Linked DNA regions of Homo sapiens: region 2 is linked to region 1. The links are contacts of gene promoters, found by promoter capture Hi-C in human tissues and cell types (Jung and others, 2019). All regions are on one chromosome and are shown on one strand. Each heading gives the region's core, a stretch centred on a gene start or on the middle of the fragment in contact. The rest is flanking DNA. Distances are from core to core; before and after follow the strand shown.

Region 1 (6,958 bases), core at 4,459-6,958:
GTGCAATGGCCTGATCTTGGTTCACTGCAACCTCCACCTCCTGGGTTCAAGCAATTCTCCTGCCTCAGCCTCCCGAGTAGCAGGGATTACAGGCATGTGCCACTAGGCCAACTAATTTTATACTTTTAGTAGAGACAGAGTTTATCCATGTTTGTCAGGCTGGACTCAAACTCCCGGCCTCAGTTGATCCACCCTCCTCGACCTCCCAAAGTGCTGGGATTACAGGCGTGAGCCACTGCTCCCAGCCAGGGGATACTGTCTTCTAAGAGCCTATTTCTGGAGGGACCGTGGCTGGGAGAGTTCTGCTGTCCCCAAGTCTGCCTCCGCTCCTGTGAACCCCTCATGATCTAAACACCTCACCTCCAAGGGTGGCTCCAGTCTCCAAAGATTCAATTCCTTTGTGTGTGAGTGGTGGGGGAATTGGTTAACCTTAACCAACTGGTACTCAACTGAAGAAAAAGAAATCTGTTCTACTATTGGAGCCAAAACTGACAGCAAAAGACTATTGTGAAACGGTAATACAGTCTTTCACGTGGCGCTGTTTGAAGAATTTTTCCACCATTTACAATGGTGATACTCACCATTTACAATGTTTGCCTCGTATGCCGATTTTGCAACACAACCCTTGAATGGGATGTGACTGCCATAAAGAATTCAAGTCATTTAAAAATTATTTTTTGGTTATTTATTTGACCTTTGATCCCACTCTGAGACTGAACCTCATGGATCATAACTGTGCAAGCATGGCTAGGAATTTCCTCTCTTCCCCACATCTCCTGCCTCCCGTCTAGGAGTCTGGGCTCTGGAGAAATGGAAGAATATGCCCTTCCTCTCCGCCTGAAGGTGTCCCTGTTGTGACATGCACAGGGCCATTGCTGACCCTTTTATTTCTCACACTAATGATATGCGCATTAGTATCGATGTCTTTTATTTCTTGGGAAGTGTTTATACTCTTGCAACAGCCTGATAAGTAAAATCATCCAACACTTGGAAATAAGGCAAATAGATAACCGGTGTCCTTTCAAAGTCAAATGAGAGCTGTATCTAACAAACCCTGCTAAGGGTCATCTGACACTCTAGGGGAATGTCACTTGGCTTGACTTATTATTTACTATTGATTAGAGCCCAGATTCAGTAAAGATAGCTGTTAACTGGTAGAAAACTGTTAAGTTGCAAATTATTTTTGTCTAGTAGAGATGCAAATGATTTCTTTTCAATAGAGAAGATAGCCCCAACATGATGATTTTATTGCCCTATAGAACACTAACCAGTTTTGTATCTAATTTAGCAATTTTATGAATATTCCAGAATTCTTGTTGTTTTAACTGACTCTCTCTGTCTCCATATATAGGTATACATATATATTTTTTTCCATATCCATTGAACTAGCTTTGTCACCCAGCTGGTTCCTCCATTAACAACCTACAAGAGGACACTGACACATTCCCACACTGTATTTCTATAGGAACTGGGTATTCAATATTTTGAAAACTAGACTTTGAGAAGCTTTTCACAGTATCTGATTTTTCCTCTTGCCAACTCTTGCCCCTGTCTGTGTGACCCGGGCAAGTCTTTTTTTGTCTCTGGTCCTTTGTGTCTTCAGAGTAAAATAGGGCACGCAGGGCTGGCGTTTCTGCCTCGGGCATGTCATGTTTCTAACTCCTCTGGCAGGCAAGCAGGGCTGACGCAATGCAGTCAAAGAAGATGGATACTGGGCCGGGCGCGGTGGCTCACACCTGTAATCCTAGCACTTTGGGAGGCCGAGATGGGCAGATCACCTGAGGTCAGGGGTTTGAGACCAGCCTGGGCAACATGGCAAAACCCCGTCCCTACTAAAAATACAAAAATTAGCCGGGCGTGGTGGTGCACACACGCCTGTAATCCCAGCTACTTGGAAGGCTGAGGCAGGAGAATCTCTTGAACCCAGGAGGCAGAGGTTGCAGTGAGCTGAGATCGAGCCACTGCACTCCAGCCTGGGCAACAAAGTGAGACTGTCTCAAAAAAAAAAAAAAAAAAAGAAGAAGAAGAAGAAGAAGAAGATGGATACTGGGCTGGGCGCGGTGGCTCACGCCTGTAATCCCAGCACTTTGGGAGGCCGAGATGGACAGATCACCTGAGGTCAGGAGTTTGAGACCAGCCTGGGCAACATGGCAAAACCCCGTCTCTACTAAAAATACAAAAATTAGCTGGGCATGGTGGTGCATGCGTGCCTGTAATCCCAGCTACTTGGAAGGCTGAGGCAGGAGAATCTCTTGAACCCAGGAGGCAGAGGTTGCAGTGAGCTGAGATCCAGCCACTACACTCCCACCTGGGCAAAAAAATGAGACTCTGTCTCAAAAGAAGAAGAAGGAGGAGGAGGAGGAGGAGACTGGAAGGGATGTTAGAGGCCATTTGGGGCAGCCTTCCCACCTCCCACCCACTCCCTCATCTTGGTAGATGGAGAAAGTGGGGTTCAGAAAGATGAGATAACTTGCCCAGGGTCACACTGTGAGTTAGGTATGGGCTGAGCAGATGAGATTCCAGCTCCACGAACTTTCTGAATCCAGGGAGCATGGGAGGGGCTGTCAGGGGGAGCTCTGGGCCCCCACCCTTCAAGCCAGTATCCCCATTTTTATCTGTTTGACATACATCAGATGCCACACAAGATTGCAAATGAAAAAGAAGTCCCCAAAGCTCAAAAACCCTGGCTCTAGACCATCCTTCATCTGCCCACTTCAACAGCCTTCCCTTATCTCCTCCCTCCTCCTCCTCTTTTCCTCCTCCTGCCTCTGGCAAAATTTTCAGAAAACAAACAAACAAACAAAAACATGCTCATGAGAAGAAGCAGACAGATGTGGTCAGCCCAGGCCTGAACACATTGGTCTCCAGTCTGGGAGAGACAGAGCCTCTCTATCTAAAGAAAAGCATTCTCAGGGTCCAAGCTGACAATGATGCAGTGTGCCGTGCTGACAGGTAATGAGCATCCCATCAGTTAAGGTGAGTAAGGCTAGATGATCTGTTCAAACACTAGCAGCAATTGTCTCTAGATGGTAGAATTCACAGGCTTTTGTTGCTGGGTTTTGTTTTTTGTTTTTTTTTGAGATGGTGTTACAGGATCTTTGGGGTGTCATTTTCTGGCCGGAAACCTCTGTGGCTGGTGGCACCTTTGCCCAAGTTTTGCTCAGGCCCACTGGGCTTGTTTCACTCACTCCTCCTGGCAGGCAGCACTCAGCTCACATTACCAGCCTGGGTTCCACATCTGCCCAGGGCAAGTCAGGCATGGAACAGTGAAGGGTGTGTGAGTGAACATGGGGTCTGGCCACTGCACACAGTCAGACATGCCGGCTGCTGCAGCGGGGTGAGCAGCTCCAGGTGCCAGCATGGGCGCCAGCTCTCTGAGAGGTTGTGGCTAGACCAAGTACACCACAAGCAGCTTCCACAGCTGGCACCGGGGAACACGGTGGCACCCAGAAGCTTCGAGATGCCAGGAACCACAGGGCCCCGAAAAGGGAGTCACAGCTCCAGCTTGGGGAGCTCCCAGGTCTGGGTTCCCCAGAGGGCCGCAGCTCTTCTTTCCTTCCCTTCACCTGCATCATGGCAAGCAAGGGGCATGTTTCAGCCTTGTTTGTGTTACAGCTCTTTCAGCCCCACCATTTGATGGGTCCCAAGTTCTTATCCTGCAACCAGGAAGAATGAGGTATGCAGACAAGTGGGGAGTGAGCAAGACGAAGAGGAGCTTTACTGAGCGATAGAACAGCTCAGCCTCCTGCAGAGCCTCCCTCAGGGGGCAGCTCCTTTCCACAGCCAGGGTGTCCTGATGAGTGTTCAGCTGCTAGCAGAGAGGAGACCCTGGAATGGGAAGCTCCTCTCTGCAGGCAGGTCATCCTGTCGACTTTCCAGCTCTCAGAAGAGGGAAGACCCTGGAATGGGAAGCTCCTTTCTGCAGGCAAGTTGTTCTGCCATCTCTGCAGCTCTCAGCAGAGAGGAGGCCCTGGAGCGGGTAGCTCCTCTCGGCAGCTGGTCATCCAATGTCTGCCCAGCTCTGGCTGAGCCTGAAGCTTTCATGAGCCTCAGAGAGGAGGAAGTGCATACTGATTGGTCCATGGGTGGCTATAGGCAAGCCCAGAAAATACACCATAAGTTCCCACTCTGGTGTGTGGGACTGGCAGCCTGGCCCCCAGCCTTGAGGCCCTCCCTGGCTTGAAGGTAGGGCCTCACCAGGGACCCATCCCCTTCCACCCAGGAGCCTGTCTGTCTCCTGCTGCTGTTCATGGTGCCCAGGCTGTTCATGCCAAGGAGCGTCTGCAGGCCAGTGCCGAGCTGCCCTCAGTTTCCCCTTGGCTTTCCTTCCATGCTAGTCAGTGCCCAAAGTCCAGAGGGGGCCAAGGCAGCAGGGGTCTAGTGTGTCAGCACTGCCCCAAGCATGCCCACACCCAGCCAGGCTGCGACAGCACCCAGGCTCAGCACCAACTTTGCTCTAAGATCAGAGTGGGCGCCAAGAGGAGGGAGAAGCCAGGCAGTGGGAGCAGACACTTCTGAGCCTGAAGGGTGGGGCGGGGGGCCTTCCCGGGCCCCCAAGATTGCAGGGATGCCTGGGTCCACAGCTGCAGTTTAGGCAGCTGCAGCTGCATGGGGGATGGCGGGGGCCCCCACCTGCTCCATGAAGCAGGATCAGCTGTGGTTTGGCAGCTGCAGTGGTTCCCAGGAGGGCGGGGTTCCCACTGTCCCCAGCTCCCACTGGCTACATGGAGCATGCAGCCCTGGCCGTGCCTCCCTGCTGCAGCCAGTGTGATGACAGCAGCCATTCCAGACGGCCCGCCATTGCCATCTCTTTTTTTTTTTTTTTTTTTTGAGATGGGGTCTTGTTCTGTCTCCCAGGCAGGAGTGCAGTGGTAAGATCAAAGCTCACTGCAGCCTCAACCTCCTGGGCTCTAGCAATCCTCCCAGCTCAGCCTCCCAAATAGCTGGGACTACACAGGTGCATGCTACCACACCTGGCTATTTTTTAAATTTTTAGTAGAGATGGAGTTTCACCATGTTGGCCAGGCTGGTCTCGAACTCCTGACCTCAAGTGATCCGCCTGCCTTGACCTCCCAAAATGCTGGGATTACAGGCGTGAGCCAAAGCACCTAGACTTGCTGTTTTTTTAAATGTTGGCAAAAGCTAGTGACTAAGTGTTCACCATGTGCCAAGTGTTTTGTATGTGCAAGTCATTAAAATGTTATAATAATCAGATGATATAGGACCCCGTTCCCAGTGTACAGATAAAACTGAGGGCTCAGGAGGTCAAGTAATTTCCCAAAGACATGCAACTAGGAAGCAGCAAGTCTAGAAACAGATTGCTGTGCTTCCTTCTCACCAATGCACTGTTCTTTCTTCTTTGTATTTTCCAAGCTTTTGGCAATGAATTGCATGTCACTTTCATAATCATGAAAAGTCCTACAAGGGACAGATTTTTTTAAAGATTCCTTCCGCTCTGGTGTTCTGTGCTTCGCTGGTTCTCAGAACCTCACCCTGCACGGCCTCCACCCCACATCCTCACAGGCACTGGCCTCACTGCCCCCACTCCCACACCAGCTGTTGCTGGGGCAGGACGCCCAATGTCCCAGTCTTGCTGAAGTCTGCTTGAAATGTCCCTGGTGAGCTTCTGGCCACTGGGGAAGTTCAGGGGGCAGGTCTGAAGAAGGGGAAGTAGGAAGGGATGTGAAACTTGGCCACAGCCTGGAGCCACTCCTGCTGGGCAGCCCACAGGGTCCCTGGGCGGAGGGCAGGAGCATCCAGTTGGAGTTGACAACAGGAGGCAGGTGAGGCCAGAGTCCCAGAGGGAGGGGGCTGCAGAGTTCTGGGACCCAGGGGAGCTGGCCCAGGAGGCTGGGCAGCTGAGGCAGGGAGGGAGGGAAATAACTGTGCCTGATTCTAGGACAGGGATGGGGGTGCAGCACTGATCCAGGACCCAGAATGGGTGAGTGGAGGGACCTTAACTCCTTGAGCCAGGGCTTGGGGGAGGGTGAGAGGCGATGAGTTAGACCTAACAACTGAAGGGTAAGACCAGGGTTCCTGGGTCCTGGCCCCATAACACATAAGAAACCAGGAAAAGCCTGGGGTGCTAGAGCTGGCAGTGGGACCCAGCAGAGGGGACTGTAGGGGCAGCCAGTCACCCATGCTCAGGTGGATGCTGAAAGGCGCTGAGCATGCAGAAGAGTGAGCAGGTGTCGCTTTGGGCGTTTGTGAATTCCTGTGTGTATGCAGAGCTCCACCATCTGGGTGAGCCAGTGTTAATTAAATAAGGAGCAGGCGCTCAATACATATTTGTTCAATGAAATCGATTACCTGTGGGAGTGTATGAATGTGTGTGTCCGTGCAAGTGAGGGACAGGGTCTATTTGGGTATCAGTTGTGTGTCTAGGGGGGTATAGTGGATTTCTGAGTTTGCCTACTGTGTTTTGTAGGTGCGTGGATGAGAGCTGTGTTTGTGTGAGTGTGTGAAGATGTGGGTGTGCTCTGTTGCATGTGTGGATGTGTGTGAGTTTGTGGTTCTGTGTATATGCGTGGGGTCCTGGGGCTGGATTGAGAGTGGACATTGAGAGCCCCAGAGGGTGCATGTGCACTTGGGGAGGACTGTGCATATATCATTGTGTGCATGGGACTCAAGGGTGGGAGCTGGGTGTGAGTGTGATGTCCAACCTGCCCAGGCCCTCCCGTGTCTCCACAGAGGCATCATGGAGGGTCCCCGGGGATGGCTGGTGCTCTGTGTGCTGGCCATATCGCTGGCCTCTATGGTGACCGAGGACTTGTGCCGAGCACCAGACGGGAAGAAAGGGGAGGCAGGAAGACCTGGCAGACGGGGGCGGCCAGGCCTCAAGGGGGAGCAAGGGGAGCCGGGTAAGCACCCTTCCTCGGGACCCAGCCCCTTGGACCTTGGCCTGACTTGGCCTCCAGGGTGAAGGCTTGGGGTGGCACTGAGAATCAGGAGTCCGTCT
Region 2 (6,708 bases), core at 717-3,216, 130 kb before region 1:
CCTATCACATTCGTTTTTGTGTGGCTAGTATAATACATGTAAAACATTTAGCACTGTGCCCGGCACATGGGCATTCAGTAAATATTAGTTGCTGTCTTCACTGTCATCATCGGCAAAGATTATGCTTTGATAGTTGTCTTTGTACATAGACAAAGACCTTCAGATAATTTCTTAAGGTTGGATTTCCAGAAGTGGAGTTACTGAGCTAAAGAAAAGGGTACATTTTTAATTATCTGCAAAGCTAAGAGAAATGCCTGATAGTTTCAATTTTTCTTAACTTCCAAGTAAATATGACCTCTTAAAAGAGAGAACCTAACAAATTGGCCCAAAGGGCACCTAAATAGAAAAACCACGGGTCAGCTTCACACGCACAGCCTTGATTCGTGCTCGTCTTTAGGATCGCCACACGGATCCTCTACCTCAGGCTTGACAAACACCCCCCCTTGAACCTGCACATCTGAGTCTCTTACAAGTACAGCCTTCTAATTACCCCCCTGGTGAGCAATTGCTAGCTCCTACCACCAGGCACTGACTTTCAAAGCGTTAACGGCTTTATGACCCTGAAGCGCCAAGCGATTAAGTGTAGGCAGAGGAGCTCTGAACATATGTGTATGAGGCCCCAAGCCAGGGCTCTGCAGAGGACACTGAGCCCTTGTGCTGATTGCTCTCTTCCTCTCTCATTGGTAATATCCTGGAGTCTTCTGTAGGAGGTTTTGTTGCATCAAACATTATTGTTTTGCTAATATCCTTACAGTCCAACCAAGCCCTGATGATTATGGGACTGAGCTATTGAGACGCTATCATGAAAACCTCTCTGAGATTTTCACAGACAACCAGATTTTATTAAAGATGATCTCACACATGACAAGTTTAGCCCCTGGAGAAAGAGAGGTAAGAGAGGGAGAGAAACAGAGGGAGGGGAGGGTAAAATGAGAAAGAAGGAAAAAATATGAATACACACACACATTTATATTTTCTGTAAATATACATATGTAGCCATGTTGAGAATTGCTAAGTAGAGGAGAAATAGAAGGTATCTCAGTTTCTAAGGTGGAATAACAAATAGAATAGTTCTAATTTCTGTGGTAATAAGGAAAGGCATTCAAAAGGAGAAATGAAGAACTTTGTCATGTATAAGAAATCTCTCAGACTGAGAGGTGAGGATGTTGAAAAACTCCTTCCCCAAACATATTCACTGTAACCCAATATCTAGACTTGCAGCTCTGCAGCTGGGCTAGTGGCTGGAGAGTCTCTTACGTGAGTGTTTGTGTTACATCTTGAAGGTCATGGAGAAGCTTGTGAAACGTGACTCTGGTTCAGGTGGTTTCAATTCTCTGATATCAGCAGTTCTAGAAAAGCAGACTCTCTCTGCCACAGCCATTTGGCAACTGCTGCTGGTGGTTCAGGAGACAAAGACCTGTCCATTGGACCTGCTCATGGAGGAAATACGAAGGGAGCCTGGTGCCGATGCTTTCTTCCGGGCAGGTAAGTTACCTGCCCTCTGGGGGGGTTTTGCCCCCACTAGAGATGACTGTCAGTCTTCCTAGAAAATAGGAAGAGCTCTCTTAACGGTAGTCACCTACATCCCTACTATTAGAAGTAAGGACTGGCAGTTTTGTTCAAGGACACAAGAGTTTGTAAACCTTTTAAAAAATAGATCCAGTAATTATCTTAAGCTTACATTCATTATTATACTCTGATTACAGTGCTATTTGCCGTTTTCCCCACTGCCAACCTCAGATAGGAGATAGGGGAAATGCATTTTCATTATGAAGAGTTGAGTGGAGGAAGGGTGTAGGAAAAAATGGTGCTCATTGTTTGCCTAATGAGTTTTTGATCCCCCTTTTTTTCAGTGACCACCCCAGAACATGCCACTTTAGAAACAATCCTGAGGCATAACCAGTTGATCTTGGAGGCCATCCAACAGAAGATTGAGTACAAGCTCTTTACCTCGGAGGAGGAGCACCTGGCAGAGACTGTGAAAGAGGTGTGGTGGGAATAAAAAGCGAAATGCCAGAGAGTTTTACAGTTGTTGCCTGGGACTGTCTTCATTCCTAAGAGAGGAACCAATAGTTGGTTGGGTTGTTTTTCCTTCTTTTTTTTTCCTTTTTCTCTTTTGAGACAGAGTCTTGCTCTGTCGCCCAGGCTGCAGTGCAGTGGCACGATCTTGGCTCATGGCAACCTCTGCCTTCCGGGTTCAAGCGATTCTCCTGCCTCAGCCTCCCAAGTAACTGGGATTACAGGTGCGCACCACCGTGCCCTGCTAATTTTTTGTATTTTTAGTGGAGACGGGGTTTCGCCATGTTGGCCAGGCTGGTCTCGAACTCCTGGCCTCAAGTGATTCACCCATCTCAGCTTTGCCAGAGTGCTGGGATTACAGGCGTGAGCCACTGTGCCTGGCCAGAACCAATATCTGTACCCCTTGCTAGGCTAATGCTTCCTAACACGTTTGCTCTTTTAATCCTTCCAGCTCTACATGGCAGGTGATGTTATCACATTTTATAGACAAGGGTTCTCAGGCCCCAAAGGGTTAAGTTACCTGTCTAAAATGCTCTGGCAGGGAGGAGATGATGTCAGGATTTGAACCCAGCTTCCTATGACTCAAACCAATTTATTCCATTTATCTAAACCTGGTATCCCCTGGAGCCATGATACTGTTCTCTTACCTGTTCTAAGAAGCAGCTTCTCTCAGATGAAGGAAAGTAAAACTGGTCTTATTACATGTTCTATTCTGGCTTCTAGAAAGAGCCAAGATAAACATAGATAAAACAAAGCTTTTGCCCATATTGGGTAGCAAATAGTGCCAGCTCATTTTCTGTAAGCCTTCACACAATGTGGCCAGCATCCCAGGAATACCAAGTGGGGACTGGGGGAACTCATGGGTGTCCAGCCCAGGATCATTTGCATCCTGAGTGGGGAAGAACAAGAAAGGAACATGAAATTAAACTACAGATTCAAATGTAGTGCCCTTTTGATTCAGGTAGGTGTGGAAGGTGTGCAGAAGGGCGGGTTTCTAACTCTCTCTGTGCAGGTGACAGCCACATGTTGGTCTGACTCAGATGGGAAGAAGATGGCACACATTTCTGTGGGGCTTCAGAGGAAAGACTCATCTGTTAGACTCTCTCCAGCACGCCGTAACTTCAGAGATGGGGCTTCTGCAGTTGATCAGTTTTAGCCTCACTAATTAGTCTCATGCCTGCCTCCAGGGACATCAGGTTTATTTAGATAGACTTGAAAAGAGCAGAAATAAAATATCTTCCAAAATGAAAATTCCGTTTGGCCATCTGTGGATGGTTTAGCTTTATTTTCTCAGTGTACCGACTCTTTCTGCTGATAGCTCTAACATTCTGAAAGAGGACGACGGCTTTGAAATAATATTCTTGGACTCTTTAAAGCTTCTATTTGAACCTTCTTTAAAACGCTGAGTTTCTTTGTGAAAGAAAATGACGTTTAAATGGGTACATCTAAGTATCTAAAAATATGAAGCCACTGATCATGCAGAATTACTTCCAGACATTGAGACAATTATATATTATGAAAACTTATTCTGATTTTCAAGACAGACACACCGACGACCAAATCCTATAGCTTTTCAAGCTTTTAGTATTAAGATCCAGAAAAGGTCTTTGGGAGACTCCTAGTTTCTGATAAGCTATTTCTTATAGAAAATGCTTTATGCTTCCCTGCATGTATCTTCTTTGTATTTGCACATTTATCTGGATACATGCTTCTTTTTTTCTGTTTTGTTAGTTTTCCTGTTCTTTGGCAAACAGAGCTGTCCACTACATTTATCACAAGGCGATGTATAAACTGCTTATAAATGGAGCAGTGCCTTCCTGGGATTAGCTTTTTTTTTTTTTTTTTAGGTTGAAAACCATGGGGAAAATCTGCTGAGATTAACCCCACACCTTTGTCTCCTGGTATTCATTTAGATTCTGAGCATTCCCTCTGAGACAGCCAGCCCTGAAGCTTCCCTGAGAGCAGTGCTGAGCAGAGCCATGGAAAAATCAGTCCCGGCCATTGAAATATGCCACCTCCTGTGCAGTGTCCACAAATCTTTTCCAGGCCTGCAGCCTGTCATGCAGGAGTTGGCATACATTGGTAAGGAACGGGCCAGGTGGGAAGGGGGTTCCTATCAGCACACCAGGTTGTTTCTTGAAGAAAGAGACAGCATTTCATATCATAGTTTATCACAACCTTAAGTTACGTATTCATTTTATATGCTCTGAATACCTAAAAAAGTCATGAGACATAGGGGGAAAATGTTCTTTGTGTTTATTGGAAAGTAAGGAGGACAATGATATTACTTCAGAGTGTTTTTGAGGATCTCAAGTAGTCTCTAGTCTCCTGTAAGAAGTGTGTTAGAAACGTTATAAAGCAAAATAGAAACAGAGAGTTCGCAGAGCCACGAGATGTCTCTTTTATGCAGGTGTCCTTACTAAGGAAGATGGAGAGAAGGAAACGTGGAAGGTGAGTAATAAATTTCACCTTGAAGCCAACAACAAAGAAGATGAAAAGGCAGCCAAAGAAGACAGCCAGCCTGGGGAACAGAATGATCAAGGAGAGACTGGTTCCTTGCCAGGACAGCAAGAGAAAGAGGCTTCAGCCTCCCCAGACCCTGCCAAGAAGAGCTTCATCTGTAAGGCCTGCGACAAAAGCTTCCATTTCTACTGCCGCCTAAAGGTGCACATGAAGCGCTGCCGGGTGGCTAAGAGCAAACAGGTGCAGTGTAAGGAGTGCAGTGAGACCAAGGATTCAAAGAAAGAGCTGGACAAACATCAGCTGGAGGCCCATGGTGCAGGTGGAGAGCCCGATGCCCCCAAGAAGAAGAAGAAGAGGCTTCCAGTGACATGTGACCTCTGTGGCAGAGAATTTGCCCATGCCTCAGGTACGTTCAAGAAGGCAAAGGAACAGAGGATGATAATTGTGGGTTTTATAGCTTGGATTTCAGGCCTTTCCCTTAGTTGTGTGCAGTGAGGGCTGTGGGTGGGCTTAGAAAATAGAGCAGGTTCCTACAGAGGCAGGGTAATATTTTAAGAGCATGGGCTTTGGAATCAGCCCCCGAGCTTTGATTTCCCCAAATCTATTAAAGCAGCACCCTGATACCACTTACTCTGTTGCATTGTTATGAAGACTTAAGGTAACAGAGCTAAACACCAGTGCACTGCCTGTAACAGAGTGAGCACACAATAACTTACAGCTCTTACTGTTTACAGTGATAACCAGCTACTTAATACCTGGCTCATGTTTCCATGTGCCACTTGTTTCTTGGTAACAAACAAGAGTCATGGAAATCATGGGATGTACAGTCAGAATGGTTTCCCTTGTCCTAGAATTTGGATAAACCTAATGAAATATAAAAGCAAGTTGAGTTTCCCTAGTTCTGGGTGGCAGGGTCCTATTTAAGAGAGAGAAGGGAATGGGGAAGATAAGCCCAGCATTACTTTCCACCGGCTCCATCCAGGAGTAAGGCCAGGTGACTTTGGGGATGCCAGTTGGTGGGTAGAGAGCAGCGTGGCTGTGTGCAGTGGGTACCAGCGTGGCCTGGCACCCTGGGCTTCATGCTGTGCTTCCTCTGGAGGCCTGGGCTGAGACAGTGCTCTTGGTATCCTGTGCTAGATTCCTAACACTGATTAGTAGCATCTCTTCTGGCCTCTGGTGTGCTTGGCTTCCCTAGGCATGCAGTACCATAAGCTGACAGAGCACTTCGATGAGAAGCCTTTCTCCTGTGAAGAGTGTGGGGCGAAGTTTGCAGCCAATTCCACCCTGAAGAACCACCTTCGCCTTCACACCGGGGACCGCCCGTTCATGTGCAAGCACTGCCTCATGACCTTCACCCAGGCCTCCGCCCTGGCCTATCACACCAAGAAGAAGCACTCAGAAGGTAAGGCGGGGCACAGTTCATTTCTCCTGCAGACTTTCACTGCGAACTGCCTAAACCCCATTTGGATTAGGTGTGATATATATCTCAAAAACAAAACAATTTGATAGCACAACAGGGTGACTAAAGTCAATAATAACTTAATTGTACATTTTAAATACAGTGTAATTTGGATTATTTATTACACAGAGGATAAATGCTGGAGGGGATGGATCTCTCATTCTCCCTGATGCAGTTATTTCATATTGCATGCCTGCAGCACAACATCACATGTACCTTGTGAATATATACACCTACTGTGTACCCACAAAAGTTAAGTATCAAAAAAAAAATAAGGCTGAGGCAGGCGGATCACAAGGTCAGGAGATTGAGACCATCCTGGCTAACATGGTGAAACCCCATCTGTACTAAAAAATACAAAAAATTAGCCAGGCGTGGTGGCGGGCACCTGGAGTCTCAGCTACTCGGGAGGCTGAGGCAGGAGAATGGTGTGAACCTGGGAGGTGGAACTTGCAGTGAGCTGAGATTGTGCCACTGCACTCCAGCCTGGGCAACAGAGTGAGACTCCGTCTCAAAAATAATAATAATAATAAATAAAATTAAAAAACAATGCACAACCTCTAGGCAAACAGACGACTGGGAATAGCTCTGTGCACAGACGTAAACTGCTTACTGGGAGAGCTTCTGAAAGAGACTGGCTAACCTCCTATGACTTTATATTAGGTCTTGTGGAAAAGTCATTGTGGTTTTTGCCATTAAAAGTTATAGAGAATTTACATAAAATTATTTGAGCTTTGAAGTCGAGTTCAAGCATGAGAAGGACCCTG

What was found. Contacts are between HindIII fragments. The study calls those that stand out against the background at their distance.
Region 2: a fragment that was not itself captured here is called in contact with the fragment with the promoter of C1QA in region 1 in 5 of the 25 tissues and cell types used here (H1 embryonic stem cells, aorta, hippocampus and 2 more).

What each region holds. Positions count from the first base shown.
Region 1 is chr1:22,630,920-22,637,877 of GRCh38, forward strand. It overlaps C1QA (complement C1q A chain), which reads left to right and starts at 5,709. Exons shown (of 3, transcript NM_015991.4): 1 at 5,709-5,783; 2 at 6,691-6,860. The coding sequence starts at 6,698. It overlaps MIR6127 (microRNA 6127), which reads right to left and starts at 2,447; the gene lies at 2,339-2,447. The HindIII fragment of the contact is 11,741 bases long and covers 4,706-6,958 here.
Region 2 is chr1:22,507,247-22,513,954 of GRCh38, forward strand. ZBTB40 (zinc finger and BTB domain containing 40) reads left to right here. Exons shown (of 18, transcript NM_014870.4): 7 at 755-891; 8 at 1,284-1,485; 9 at 1,854-1,987; 10 at 3,933-4,101; 11 at 4,430-4,888; 12 at 5,678-5,884. Among named protein-coding and RNA genes, the nearest start is that of EPHA8, 53 kb to the right of the region's middle. The HindIII fragment of the contact is 3,059 bases long and covers 438-3,496 here.